Linked DNA regions of Homo sapiens: all the other regions are linked to region 4. The links are contacts of gene promoters, found by promoter capture Hi-C in human tissues and cell types (Jung and others, 2019). All regions are on one chromosome and are shown on one strand. The core of a region is centred on a gene start or on the middle of the fragment in contact, and the rest is flanking DNA. Distances in the headings are between cores, read along the strand shown.

Region 1 (3,215 bases), core at 135-2,634, 630 kb before region 4:
TCTTAGCAAAGTTGAACAGTAACTACTTAGAGATTTTTATATATGCTCTGACTACACACATGCCCAGTTTCCCCCACTATCAACATTCCCTCACCAGAATAGTACATTTGTTATAATCAGTGGACCTACGTTGACACATAATTATCAACCAAAGTCCATAGTTTACATCAAGTTTCAGTCTTGGTGTTGTACTTCCTATGTGTTTTGCCAAAAGTATAATGACAGGTATCCACCATTATAGTATCATGCAGAATAATTTCACTGTCCTAAAAGTCCCTGTGCTCTGCCTATTCATCCCTTCTTCCCCCATACTCTGGCAACTACCGGTCTTTTTACTGTCTCTATAGTTTTGCTTTTTTCAGAATGTTACATATGAAATACCACAGTATTTAGCCTTTTCAGAATGGTTTCTTTTACTTAGTAATATGCATTAAAGTTTTCTCCATGTCTTTTCATGGCTTGAAAGCTTATTAATCTTTAATAATGAATAATATTCTTTTGCCTGAACGTATCACAGTTTACCCATTCATCTACCAAAAAACACCTTGGTTGCTTAACTTGTTACATTTTAACTTTATTATAATCCTAACAGGCAGAGGAAACATAAAAAGGGCATAAGATTAGGTTAGGAAAAACCATCACATTTTTTTTTACTTCTTTCACAACTACCTGCCTTTCCACATAAAAATATAAGTAATTCAAAGAACAAAGGTTCTTGTGTATAAGCTCAAGTAGATCTCTACGGGTAACTAAGGAATGGGTAACTGTTCATCAGTGTGAAAATACAAGAGGTAAATTTATACAATGCAATTTCAACCCCCCCAAAAATTGTTATTACCACAAGAAAATGTAATTTGTTTCTGAATCTTCTGTCTTCCCTTGCTTCTTAATAAGAATGATGTGTTTCTTTTGTGAGTAAAGAGACAGCAGGTTTCCTTAACAATTTAATCAGGTGATTAAGGAATAGTCATCATCTGATACTTTTAGTGTTCTGAGATTGATCTAAATCAAATTATTCTTTGTTAATAGATTATGAACAAAATGATAGAATGAAACAGGAAAGTCTCAAGTCTGTCATAACCTACACATACTAATTCCAAAATCATTTCGTGAAAAATATTTTAGACTAACTTTCTCCTTGGTAAATAATATGTCTGTTTATGTAACTATTAGTCATACTATTTGGAAGTGACATACATTTTTTAGTGTTTCCTTGAGGCAAATTTTCATGTCTGAACTCTAAGATCTAATCAGTTTCATCTGATTCTGAGACTAATTTTGAAAAATATGTTTCAATGAATAATTACATATAAGCCCTCAAAATTATCCTTACTGAAACTGAAAGAATCTGCCAGCAAGAAAATAAAAAATATGAACTTCTGACAGATCACAAAAAAAGTGTTTTTTTCTTTGACCTTTTATTCCAAACAGCTAAGACATGAACAGCAATGAGACGAATTTTTTTTAATTATAATAAAAAATGTTGAAAGATTCAATGGAAGACTTCCTTTTCTTTGTATTTATATCTCTGAAAACAAGAAAAAATTGCAAAGTAATATTTAGGCAAGATTGACATTTGAAGAGCTACTTGAGTAGTGAGAAGATTTGGAGAGAATGTCTGAGTATGTTCATTTAAGGGAAGCTTAGTGAAAATAATTAGAGTCATTTAATAAAGGAAATTGAAATCCTTTTATAACCTTTCCCTTTACATTCACTCTGTTACTATTTCTTCCAGTGAGATGGAGAGAGACTAGAACTACTTGGGGAAAAGTTTAAATGTCTAATGGGAGATTATTTTTGGTAAGAGATTAATTATACTGTAAAATAATTACTTAGTAATAAAAGGAAGAAAAGAAGGCACATTAGTAATGGCCTTCATTATCTTATTCTGTACTCTGGCCTCAATCTTTTTGTCTCTTGATTAGCTTTGATGTTCACTCTTACATTCATTTAATTCAAAATTTATGAACTAGTACCTTTTCTCTTTCATTTTATCAGTAGTTTCATTCACAGAATGAGATCATGACAATGATTTTTTTTTTTTTTTTTTTACCATCAAATCTATTTGTTCTGGGAGACATTTGTGGGATTACCAGGTCTCTCATTACAAGTCCAAGTAATTGAGAGAGAGTTACATGGTCACCAAGATCCACTTGAAGAAGACTATATCAGGAGTCTGGAAGGGAAACAAGACTGAGTTGCAGCATATAAAACAGAGTCAGTCCAAGAGATAACAAAAGTGAAATAAAGAGCTAGGCAAATAGCCAAATCTATGTCATTGTGTTCATGCTGCTGATAAAGACATACCCGAGACTAGGCAATTTACAAAAGAAAGAGGTTTAATTGGACTCACAGTTCCATGTGGCTGGGGAGGCCTCACAATCATGGCAAAAGGGAAGGAGGACCAAGTCACGTCTTACATGGATGGTGGCAGGCAAAGAGAGCTTGTGCACGGCAACTCCCATTTTTAAAACCATCAGATCTTGTGAGATCCATTCACTGTCATAAGAGCAGCACGGGAAAGACCTGCCCCCATAATTCAATCATCTCCCACCAGTTCCCTCCCACAACGTGTGGGAATTTGGGGAACTACGAGATTTGGGTGGGGAAACAGAGCCAAACCATATCAATCATCAATCTGAAATAGGAAGGAATGGCAAGGAGTTTTCATCTTACGTGACATTCTCTATAATGCTGGAAGATGCTTAGATTGTGACAAAGAATGTGAGGTTACAGCAAGTGCAAGGTAATAGAGCAGTATGATTAATCAGCTATCACTCTCCCAGATAAAAGAGTAAGCCATAACAAAATGTGCCAAGTGTTTGTGATACCTTACCAAGGGGAGAATACACAATGGAGACCAAGAAACCTCCCGTTTTCTATGTGGGTGGACAGTATTTCTGCCTAAATCAAAACTAGAGAAAACCTCTGCTTGACTTCACAGCATCCCACCTGACAAACCATGGACTTGAGTCATTTTTTTTCCCATTAGCCTATTCTTCTATACTATTTTTTTCATATTGGAACTAACTTCTGATTAGGCAATAGTTCTCCATATACTAACAGGTTAATGAAGTATCAAGTCAGGGATATCAAGAATACAAGCTTTAATGACTGCAAAAGTGACTTTTCTGGATGGAGGTGTTGTGAAAAATAACAAGTGAAGTTTACTATAGGAACCCCACGCTGCTGTTATGCAAGGCCCTCTCAACCCC
Region 2 (2,883 bases), core at 258-2,757, 860 kb before region 4:
ACAAACTATCTCAAACTCAGTTAAGAAAAAGTACATTGAAACTGCTAATAAAAATGAGAAACAAAATATTTTATATGTAAAAAAATCATGAAATACTTTTATTTATGAATAAATAAAAATATCATGAAATATCATGATATTTCATGAAATACCAAGACCTAAGCTAAATGCTGTTTTTGTTGTTATTTCATTTTGTTATTAAGCTATTTTTCTTGTATATACTTAAGACATACAACATGATTTTTTTTTAACTTCCATGTTGGGTTCAGGGGTACATGTGCAGGTTGTTAGCTAGGTAAACTATTGTCATGGAGGTTTGATGTACAGATTGCTTCATCAGCAGGTTCCTAAGCCTAGTACCCAATAATTAGTTTTTCTGCTCTTCTCTATGCTCCCACCCTCAACCTTCTGGTAGGCCATGGTGTCCGTTCTCCTCTTTGTATCCATGTGTTCCGACCACTTAGCTCCCACGTATGAGTGAGAACATCAGTATTTTGGTTGTCTGTTCTTGTATGAGTTTGCTAAAAATAATGGCTTCTAGCTCCATCCACGTTCCTGCAAAGAACATGATCTTGTTCTTTTCTATAGCTTCATAGTATTCCATGGTGTATATGTACCACATTTTCTTTACAAGCCTTCTATTGATGGGCATTTAGAGTGATTACATGTCTTTGCTATTGTGAACAGTGCTGCTATGAATATATGCATGCTTCTGTCTTTATAACAGAATGATTTATATTCTGCTGGGTATATACCCAAGAATGGGATTGCTGAGTGGGATGGTAGTTCTGATTTTAGCTGTTTGAGGAATCACCACACAGCTTTTCACAACAGTTGAACTAATTTACATTCCTGCCAACAGTGTATACACACTCTTTTATCTGCAACCTCACCAGCATCTGTTATTTTTTTTATTTTTTCATAATAACCATTCTGACTGGTGTGAAATGATATTTCATTGTGGTTTTGATTTCCGTTTCACTAATGATCAGTGATACTGAACTTTTTTCATATGCTTGTTGGCTGCATCTGTGTCTTCTTTTGACAATTTTCTGTTTATGTCTGTGTCCACTTCTCAATGGGGTTGTTTAGTTTTTTCTTGTAAAATTGTTTAAGTTACTTATAAATGCTAGATATTACACCTTTGTCAGATTCATAGTTTGCAAATATTTTCTCCCATTTCTATAGGATGTTTACTCTTTTGATAGTTTATTTTGATATGTAGAAACTATTTAGTTTAATTAGTTTATATTTGTCAATTTTTGCTTTTGTTGCAATTGTTTTCGGTGTCTTAGTCATGAAATCTTTGCCAGGGCCTATGTCCAAAAAGGTATTGCCTAGGATGTCTTCCAGAGTTTTTTTTTAATATAGTTTTGGTTTTACATTTAAGTATTTAATCCATCACGAGTTGATTTTTATATATGGTGAAAGGAAGGGGTCCAGTTTCTGCTTTCTGTATATGGCTAGTCAGTTATCACTGCACCATTTAGTGAATAGGGAGTCCTGTCCCCACTGCTTGTTTGTGTCAGCTTTGTCAAAGATCAGATGGTTGTAGGTATGCAGCCTTATTTCCAGGCTGCCTTTTCGGTTCCATTTGTCTATGTGTCTGTTTCTGTACCAGTACCACGCTGTTCTGATTACTATAGCCCTGTAGTGCAATTTGAAGTTGGGCAGCATGATGCTTTCTGCCTTGTTCTTTTTACTTAGGACTGCCTGGACTATTCGGGCTCTTTGTTGGTTCCATATGAATATTAAAATAGTTTCTTCTAGTTCCATGAGGAATGTCAAAGAGGACTATTATGAACAATAGTATGCCAAAAACTTCAATAACCTGAAAGATAGGGTTAACATTCTAGAAACATACATTCTGAAGACTAAATCAAGAAGAAATAGAAAGCCTGAAAGATAAATAACAAATAAAGAGATTGAAGTGGGAATCAAAAACCTTCCAACAAGGAAAGCTCAGGGTCATATAAGTTCATGACTGAATTATATCAAACAACGAAATAAAAATTAATACCCATCTATCTTAAAATGTTCCAAAAAATAGAAGTAGAGGGAATATTTCCAAACTTTATTATATGAGGTGAGCATCACCCTTACATCAAAATCAGACAAAGACATCACAAGAAAAAAAAAAAAAACTACAAGGCCAATATATGTATATGCTTTCAAAAATAATTAAATACTAACAAGTTGAATTCAATAACACATCAAAAAAAATTATAGGCCATTTTGTTCCCAAAATGATGACATATAAGGCAGTTGGCTTTACTCCTCCCTGCACAGAAAATCAGACACAAATATACAGTGCTGAGATTATCAGCAATATCTCAGAACTCAAAGAACTCCAAGCAGATGGTAATGAATGGGACTTCCATACCCACAATGTCCCACCCCTCAATCTGCCCAGCATTAAGTGTGCAGAAAATTTATCTCTGACTCATGGTGTCTATACTGAAAACAGCAATAGTGATGTGGACAACCAGACTTCCCATCATCTGGGATTTCCTGGCAAGAAACCAGTTCCTCCCTCAACCGACAGGAAGCATCAGAAGAGCCTCAAGACAGAAATGTTCTAAAGAACAGCCAGTGACAAACGGGAGAGAGGAGACTACCATCCCCAGCCCTGGAAACTCTTCTCTATAACTTAGCCAAAGGAGATATCAAATCAGAGTAGCTGTTCAGTAGTACCATACTATAGAAGATATGTTCCACAGATCCTCTTCATATGAATCCATAACCAGCCTTCACACAACATTTGGATATCCACAAAAGGACCTCTCTCATTCATGACAAGCAGTACTCTGATCATTTACTAGAGCTGAGACAAACCTGGGCTTAAGGCAGCATTGAGTGCCAAAAAGAAGGTGACAACCTGGC
Region 3 (3,312 bases), core at 642-3,141, 580 kb before region 4:
GGAATACGCAATAGCAGGACATATGCCAACATTTCCATGATTGTGTGTGAGAGCTGAGTTAATATTAATAATTAACTATGCTGTGCTATTTCCAGGGTTTCACAATTTAACCCCAGGGTCCACTGTATATCATTAAAAGCATCCACTGTAGGTTCTATGTGAACAATAATGTTGGTAGAGTATGAAAATTTGGAAGAATAATGTAGAACATCTGATAAAACATTTATCTATATATCATTATTAGTCTCTATTTCTCGTCTTCAATATCAGGGCTCAAATTTTCTTCTTCAGGGGTTTAATTACTATGAATTTAAGCAACTATTTAGATAGAGGAAATTTAAGGCATTGAGATATTTTTCTAATGTATTGTACATGAAACAGATACTCTATAGATCAATGGTTGTTAACTTATTATTTACATTTGACTTTCTATGGAGTCGACATGGCCTCTCTCTTTGAAAATATATCATTTAAATTAATATAATACATTTTAATATTTAAGGTTAATAATTCCAAGAAACCTTTTAAAGCCTAGCCCCCATTAGTATAACTCCTTTAAGGGGCTATTTTCAAGAAAATCTTCTAAGGTAAGATTTCCAAATAGGATGTAAAAGATGAAAGTTTCAAAGTTGTTAATGTTTTGGTCTGCGGCCAAAGAGCTATATGTTATCTACTTATTCTGGGAAATAGAGAACAGTTAGGGTAGAAAAAAAAAACAAAAAAACAAACAAACAAACAAACAAAAAAAACACCATATGGACAGAAAGAATGGGTATCGATGTGTTGGGACAAGAACTGAGAATAAAGAAAGAATGAGTCCTGTTGTAGATACTAAAGGTTTCAGATCTCATTTTCAAGCTGCCTCTTACTACTTACAAATATTTACATAATTTGGCTCTTTCCTTTAAAAAGTATACTAATTTTGTAGATGTCGTCTTACACACACATTGGAGTAAACTAGGTAAATAATAAAACACTGATAATTTAATAGTAAAGCATGAAGGGAACATAGATTTAATGTCTTATTAAATATGGCAGCCCATTGTGTTCCATGACCTCAACCTAGAGGGCATTTCTTTCCCCAAAAAGAGTCAGAGCAGGACTTGTAACCTGAAATGTCTGCCTGAATAGCACAGACAAATCATTTCACTCTAGGGCAGCCATCACCTTTTCCCAAACATATACTAGAGGAGAGAAAATCCCATAACATCTGGCATCCCTCACACCTGTAAAACAAAATTAGACAAAATATGAAGTAATCCCATAGGAATATAGTTGAGAAACTAAGAAATTGCAGAAATAGACTGAAATAAAACTTGCAATGGCTCTCTAAACCTAGCTTCTATCAAGGTGGAAGCTAGAAAATTTGATTTAGATGTCACGTCAGGACAACAAAAGACCATACAAAGAAGACCATGACAGAAGCACTTCCCGGGACTTGACACGGGTGAATTTCACCAATTTCTTAGTAAAGAGAAATTGGAAATATTACCGAAACAACTATGTTTGCTACTAAGTATTATTCTAATCTTTCTATCAACATACACAGAAGTTGACTATTTAGTAAATCATGTGTTATTTATACCATAGTATAGTTTCATTCATCAAGTAACTCATTTGTTGGTGCAATAATTCTAAATTAAATATATTCTTCCAGGGCTGCTGTCTGTACAAGCCCAAAGTCTTCGTGTTATATTTACATAAATACAACAACAATCAACTTCCAAAGATTCAAGGAAGGATTCTCCATACTATTTTTTAGTTCAAATCGAAGTATTTCAGGCCTAAATATTCACTTAAAGTTGCTATAAAGGTGAGAGTTTCATGTCTAACCCATGGATACGTATACAGCATTTTAAGCTGATTACTCAAGATTCATAAATCTTTCCCTAAAAAAGTTAAACAAGAGAAAATCCTAGCCAAATCCAAACTGGTAAACATTTCTACAAATTTTTACAACTTCATTTTGCTCATCTTGCTGTCTTAATAAATCAAAACACAACAAGAAATTTTGAAATTCACCACTATGATAATCTTTATGATGACTGAAGGTGTAAATTTAAATGCTAAAGTAAAAACTCCAGGTAAGGAATTTGCTGTTTTCTCACACAATTTTTCTCCCTTGCAAAATATCCCCCTACCACTCAATTGCTCTGCAATCAAATGCACAGGAATGAAACTTAGCCTTTTAAAAAATTAAACCACTAATAAGAAGTGAGTTATCTTTCTGGGGGAGATTTTGGCTTCTTCTAATCTGGAAACTAAAGTGCTTTTGTGTTAAAAAAAAATCTATAAACTGGAGATTGGAAAAAAGCCCTTGTAGGTTTTGAGATAATAGTTATCTGGTTCTTGTCTTGAGAAATGGTACTTCTTCTTTCTAGATCTGACTGCTTTATGACTTGTAAAGATACACTGTTTTACTTTTTTAACATACTTTTTTTATTATACTTTAAATTCTGGGATGCATGTGCATAACCTGCACGTTTGTAGCATAGGTATACACGTGCCATAGTGGTTTGCTGCACCCATCAGCCCGTCATCTACATTAGGTATTCCTCCTAATGCTAATCCACCCCCAGCCCCCGACCCCCTGACAGACCCCAGTTTGTGATGTTCCCCTCCCTGTGTCCATGTGTTCTCATTGTTCAACTCCCACTTATGAGTGAGAACATGCAGTATTTGGTTTTCTGTTCTTGTGTTAGTTTGCTGAGAATGATGGTTTCCAGCTTCATCCATGTGCCTGCAAAGGACATGAACTCTTGCTAATTTATGGCTTCATAGTATTCCATGGTGTATATGTGCCACATTTTCTTTATCCAGTCTATCATTGATGGGCATTTCGGTTGTTTCCAAGTCTTTGCTATTGTGAATATTGCTGTAATAAAAATACGTGTGCATGTGTCTTTATAGTAGAATGATTTATAATCCTTTGGGTATATACCCAGTAATGGGATTGCTAAGTCTAATGGTATTTCTGGTTCTAAATCCTTGAGGAATAGCCACACTGTCTTCCACAATGGTTGAACTAATTTACACTCCCACCAACAGTGTAAAAGCTTTCCTATTTCTCCACATCGTCTCCAGCATCTGTTGTTTCCTGACTTTTTAGTAATCGCCATTCTAAATGGCATGAGATGGTATCTCATTGTGGTTTTGATTTGCATTTCTCTATTGACCAGTGATGATGAGCTTTTTTTCATATGTTTGTTGGCAGCATACATGTCTTCTTTTGAGAAGTGCCTGTTCATATTCTTCGCCCACTTTTTGATGGGGTTGTTGGTTTTTTTCTTGTAAATTTGTTTAAGTTCTTTG
Region 4 (3,169 bases), core at 562-3,061:
GCCAGCAGGGCGGTTCCCGGCCACTAGTGTACTGCAGCTGGGCAGGCACACTCCTCGCAGACCCGGCGCTCTCCAAGGAGAAAAGAAAGTTAGTGGGCTTGGGGTACGTTTCCCTTCTTTTCCTAGAAGAGGGTGGCAGGGGGGCTGGCTCAGAAAGAAACCATCACTGACCAACACTTGGGGTACTCTGTCAAAATGCTGCTCCTTCCATACTGAGTCTCTTTGCTCCTCCTCTTTCCCCCAGTCAACCTGGGGTTAAGTGGGAAGGGGAGTAAGGCAACTCCAGGGGATGCCTTCCAAACTCCGGGAGAGGGAAAGCACAGGAATTGGGAGAAGACGTGAAGGCAGAGCTTGAACTCCTATGTACCCGGTGACACAAGACTGCTCTGAGGGTGGCGCCCGCTGCTTCTCCCGGGCGCCCCGCCAGCCGCTCTCCCTGGCAGTGGCGCCCTTTCCTCGCCCTCTGCCCGCCCAAGAGCTGCTGGCCCAGAGCAGCCGCATTCCCGACCCTCCAAGGCGAAGATCCCCTGGATTCACCCCCTCACTGGCCTTTCCGCCTAACTGACTGAAACCCGGCTCCCCAGGCACAGATTTTCCAGCCTCCCTAAGAAATGAAAGGTTCGCGTGCCCTTCACCTCCCTCCCTGCTTTCCAGCGTCCTCAGCGCCTCCCCGAACAGCCAGACAGTGGAGCGCCCCGTGTTGGGGAGAGGAGGGGAGCAGACGCCTCCGAAGTTTGGAAAAGTTACACAGGGGCTGGGGACTGGGGGTAGGGGGTGCCGACCGGGAGAAGGGGAGGGTCACCTGTTGAGGGAGGGAGGGAAAGTTTGCCTGGCCCCGCCTCCTCCTCGGGGCACCCCGCTCCCAGCCGCGCCGCGCCTCCCCACCTGGCCCGCGCTCACCTTGAGGCCGCGGATCTCGCCGAGGTGCAGCTGCAGGCGGCGGTTCACCTCGCGGATGAGGTTGCTGTGGTCCAGCATCGCGCTCACCTTCTCCGCCTCGGCGCGCCGCAGGCTGCGGATCAGCTCCTCCTTGCTCCACTGCAGCAGCTCCTCGTCCGACACTTTGGACAGGTCCTCCACCGGCGCGGGCGGGGCCGCGGACGAGCCGGCCGGGGCTGGGGAACAACTTTCCGCCGCCGCCGCAGCCGCCGCCGCGCCTCCGGCCGCCTTCGACATGGTATCCGCGGGGTGGCAGGTGCAAGTGGGTGGAAGAGGCGAGGCGACTCCCGAAGGCGCGGGCGCGGCGAGGCCGCCTCCGCCCACACCCCTGTGCGCTCCGGCGAGTCAGCGGCACCGCCCAGGGGCCGCTGGGTTGGGGCGGCGGGGGTCGCGCTGGGTGGCCATCCTACCTCGCCATCCCCGCGCGCGCGCCCGCGCTCCCCCAGGGCCCGGCAGCCAGCCGCTTGCTGCTGCCGAGGCCCGTCCCAACTCCGCGCAAGTCCATGGTGAGGGGCACTGGGGAGCCCGGGGCTGCCGCGGGAAATCCTCGGGGACAGCGGGGGAGCTGCACCGCCGTTCCCCTGCCCTCTCCTCCGCCCTAAGCCGAGACTGTCGCCCCCCGCACTCTCTGCCCTGCACACAGGCGTGCACGCACACGCACTTTCCTCCCCCTTGCCCAGCTGCAGCCCCCGGCTTCTCCCCTCTCCTAGCTTGGAGGGCGCGCCGGGCACCGCGGCGCCTCCCCGGCTGCTCTAGCGACGCCGCCGCGGCTGCCCGAAGGCTGCTGCGCTCCTCCTGCCGCCTTCGCTGCGCCCGCGGCCGCTCCTAGGCTGCTCCGGAAAGCCTTCGATTTGCAGAGCGGAGTCGAGAAGGGGTGGAGGGTGGGGGACCGGCTGGAGGAGGAGCCTGGAGCTGGGGCCACCCGTAACCCGCAGCAGCTCCCGCATGGGCTGGACGCAGCTGCCACTCGACCGCTGCCCGGGCCCTCGAGGTGCGCTCCCGGCTGTCCTGCCCGGGAGGGCTGGGGGCGCGGCTCTTTCTGCGCCCGGGCGGGTGGGGCTGGAATGGGGAGAAGGTGAGGAGCTGTGGCCGCCCGGTCTTTGGGAGGCTCGCGCGCGCCACCGTGTGGCGGAAGAAGCTCCCTCCTCTGCCCTCTGCACACCGGCCTTGTCACCAGGCAGGGGAAACAGCTGCTGACCCAAATGCGAGGTGCTTCGTATTTGGAGGGATCGGGGATCAGGAAAGATGGGGTAGCAGGACCTGAGGGATAACCAGTTATTTGCACTTTGGAGAATGGGAGGAGAGGCAAATGGCAAAAACGGGGGTTGGGGAAAGGGGCAGCTTAAGAAAATCCAAATGGTCTGAAAAGGGCGAAAAGAGGCGTCAGGGCACTGCTCTTATGGGGCTACCCATCCCCACCCCCCACTCTCGCCCCACCCCTAGGCCTTTGTGTTTTCTAAAAATCCACTACTCTATGAAGAAGCTTCGGGAGAAGGTACTGGATCTTTTAAATTTTTATTTGAAAAATATCAAAGCCTTTAGGCGAAAATAAAATACCTTCATCTCCTGCTTCCTGAAACCTGGATTTTAAGGTCAGCACAGTCACCTCCCCTCGGAGCAAAGCAAGCCCCCTCAGGCAAGCTGAAATGCCAGCCAAGGAGATTTCCATTTTCTTCTATGCCGCAGGCTGCCAGGCGTTTACTGGGTCGGCTTTTTTATGATGGTTATTTCTGGAAGGAGGAAGTCTGAGTCCCTGGCTTCTATCTTTGGGCTATCCTCTTGTAAAGTTGGGTGGAATCGTCTCTGGGCTGAAAACATGCTTTTGCCTAAAGAGGTGGATGCCCTTGACCACCGCATGTTATTTCCAGTGGGGTACAGGGCCGGAAAATGGCAAGGATCTACCCCCACCGGGTTTCAGTTAACCCGGGTGCAGAGGGAATAATCTCTATCTGGTAGGATGATAATCAAAATCAGTCCCTTCACCCGCCGGTCAGTGCGTGTCCCCTATTGGGGACACTGAGACCTGGCTCCCGGGAGAGGCAAGGAAATGTGGTACTGCTTACGGTGACCAAATGGCCTTAACATTCCCCTCAGCTTAACTAAACTTTAGACAGGTTTCTTCCTAACTGTAGGCCCCAGACCTTCCTTTTCTCAGAGCATTTACTTTAGCCAACTTCCATTGGTGAATGTTTCCTCTGACCCTTTGACATGTAAATCTCTCCGCCTCTTG

What was found. The method cuts DNA at HindIII sites, captures the fragments that hold promoters and counts their contacts. A contact is called where the count stands out against the background at its distance.
Region 1: a fragment that was not itself captured here is called in contact with the fragment with the promoter of CCDC85A in region 4 in 2 of the 25 tissues and cell types used here (H1 embryonic stem cells and mesenchymal stem cells).
Region 2: a contact is called between a fragment that was not itself captured here and the fragment with the promoter of CCDC85A in region 4, in 1 of the 25 tissues and cell types used here (lymphoblastoid cells).
Region 3: a contact is called between a fragment that was not itself captured here and the fragment with the promoter of CCDC85A in region 4, in 2 of the 25 tissues and cell types used here (dorsolateral prefrontal cortex and lymphoblastoid cells).

The regions. Positions count from the first base shown.
Region 1 is chr2:56,810,614-56,813,828 of GRCh38, reverse strand. No RefSeq gene overlaps it. Among named protein-coding and RNA genes, the nearest start is that of CCDC85A, 630 kb to the right of the region's middle. The HindIII fragment of the contact is 4,228 bases long and covers 1-3,215 here.
Region 2 is chr2:57,040,886-57,043,768 of GRCh38, reverse strand. No RefSeq gene overlaps it. Among named protein-coding and RNA genes, the nearest start is that of CCDC85A, 860 kb to the right of the region's middle. The HindIII fragment of the contact is 9,220 bases long and covers 1-2,883 here.
Region 3 is chr2:56,760,670-56,763,981 of GRCh38, reverse strand. No RefSeq gene overlaps it. Among named protein-coding and RNA genes, the nearest start is that of CCDC85A, 580 kb to the right of the region's middle. The HindIII fragment of the contact is 6,668 bases long and covers 1-3,312 here.
Region 4 is chr2:56,182,632-56,185,800 of GRCh38, reverse strand. It overlaps CCDC85A (coiled-coil domain containing 85A), which reads right to left and starts at 1,811. Exons shown (of 6, transcript NM_001080433.2): 1 at 901-1,811. The coding sequence starts at 1,176. It overlaps LOC100129434 (a long non-coding RNA gene), which reads left to right and starts at 31. Exons shown (of 3, transcript NR_125368.1): 1 at 31-103. RefSeq lists a silencer at 1,812-2,141. The HindIII fragment of the contact is 12,191 bases long and covers 1-3,169 here.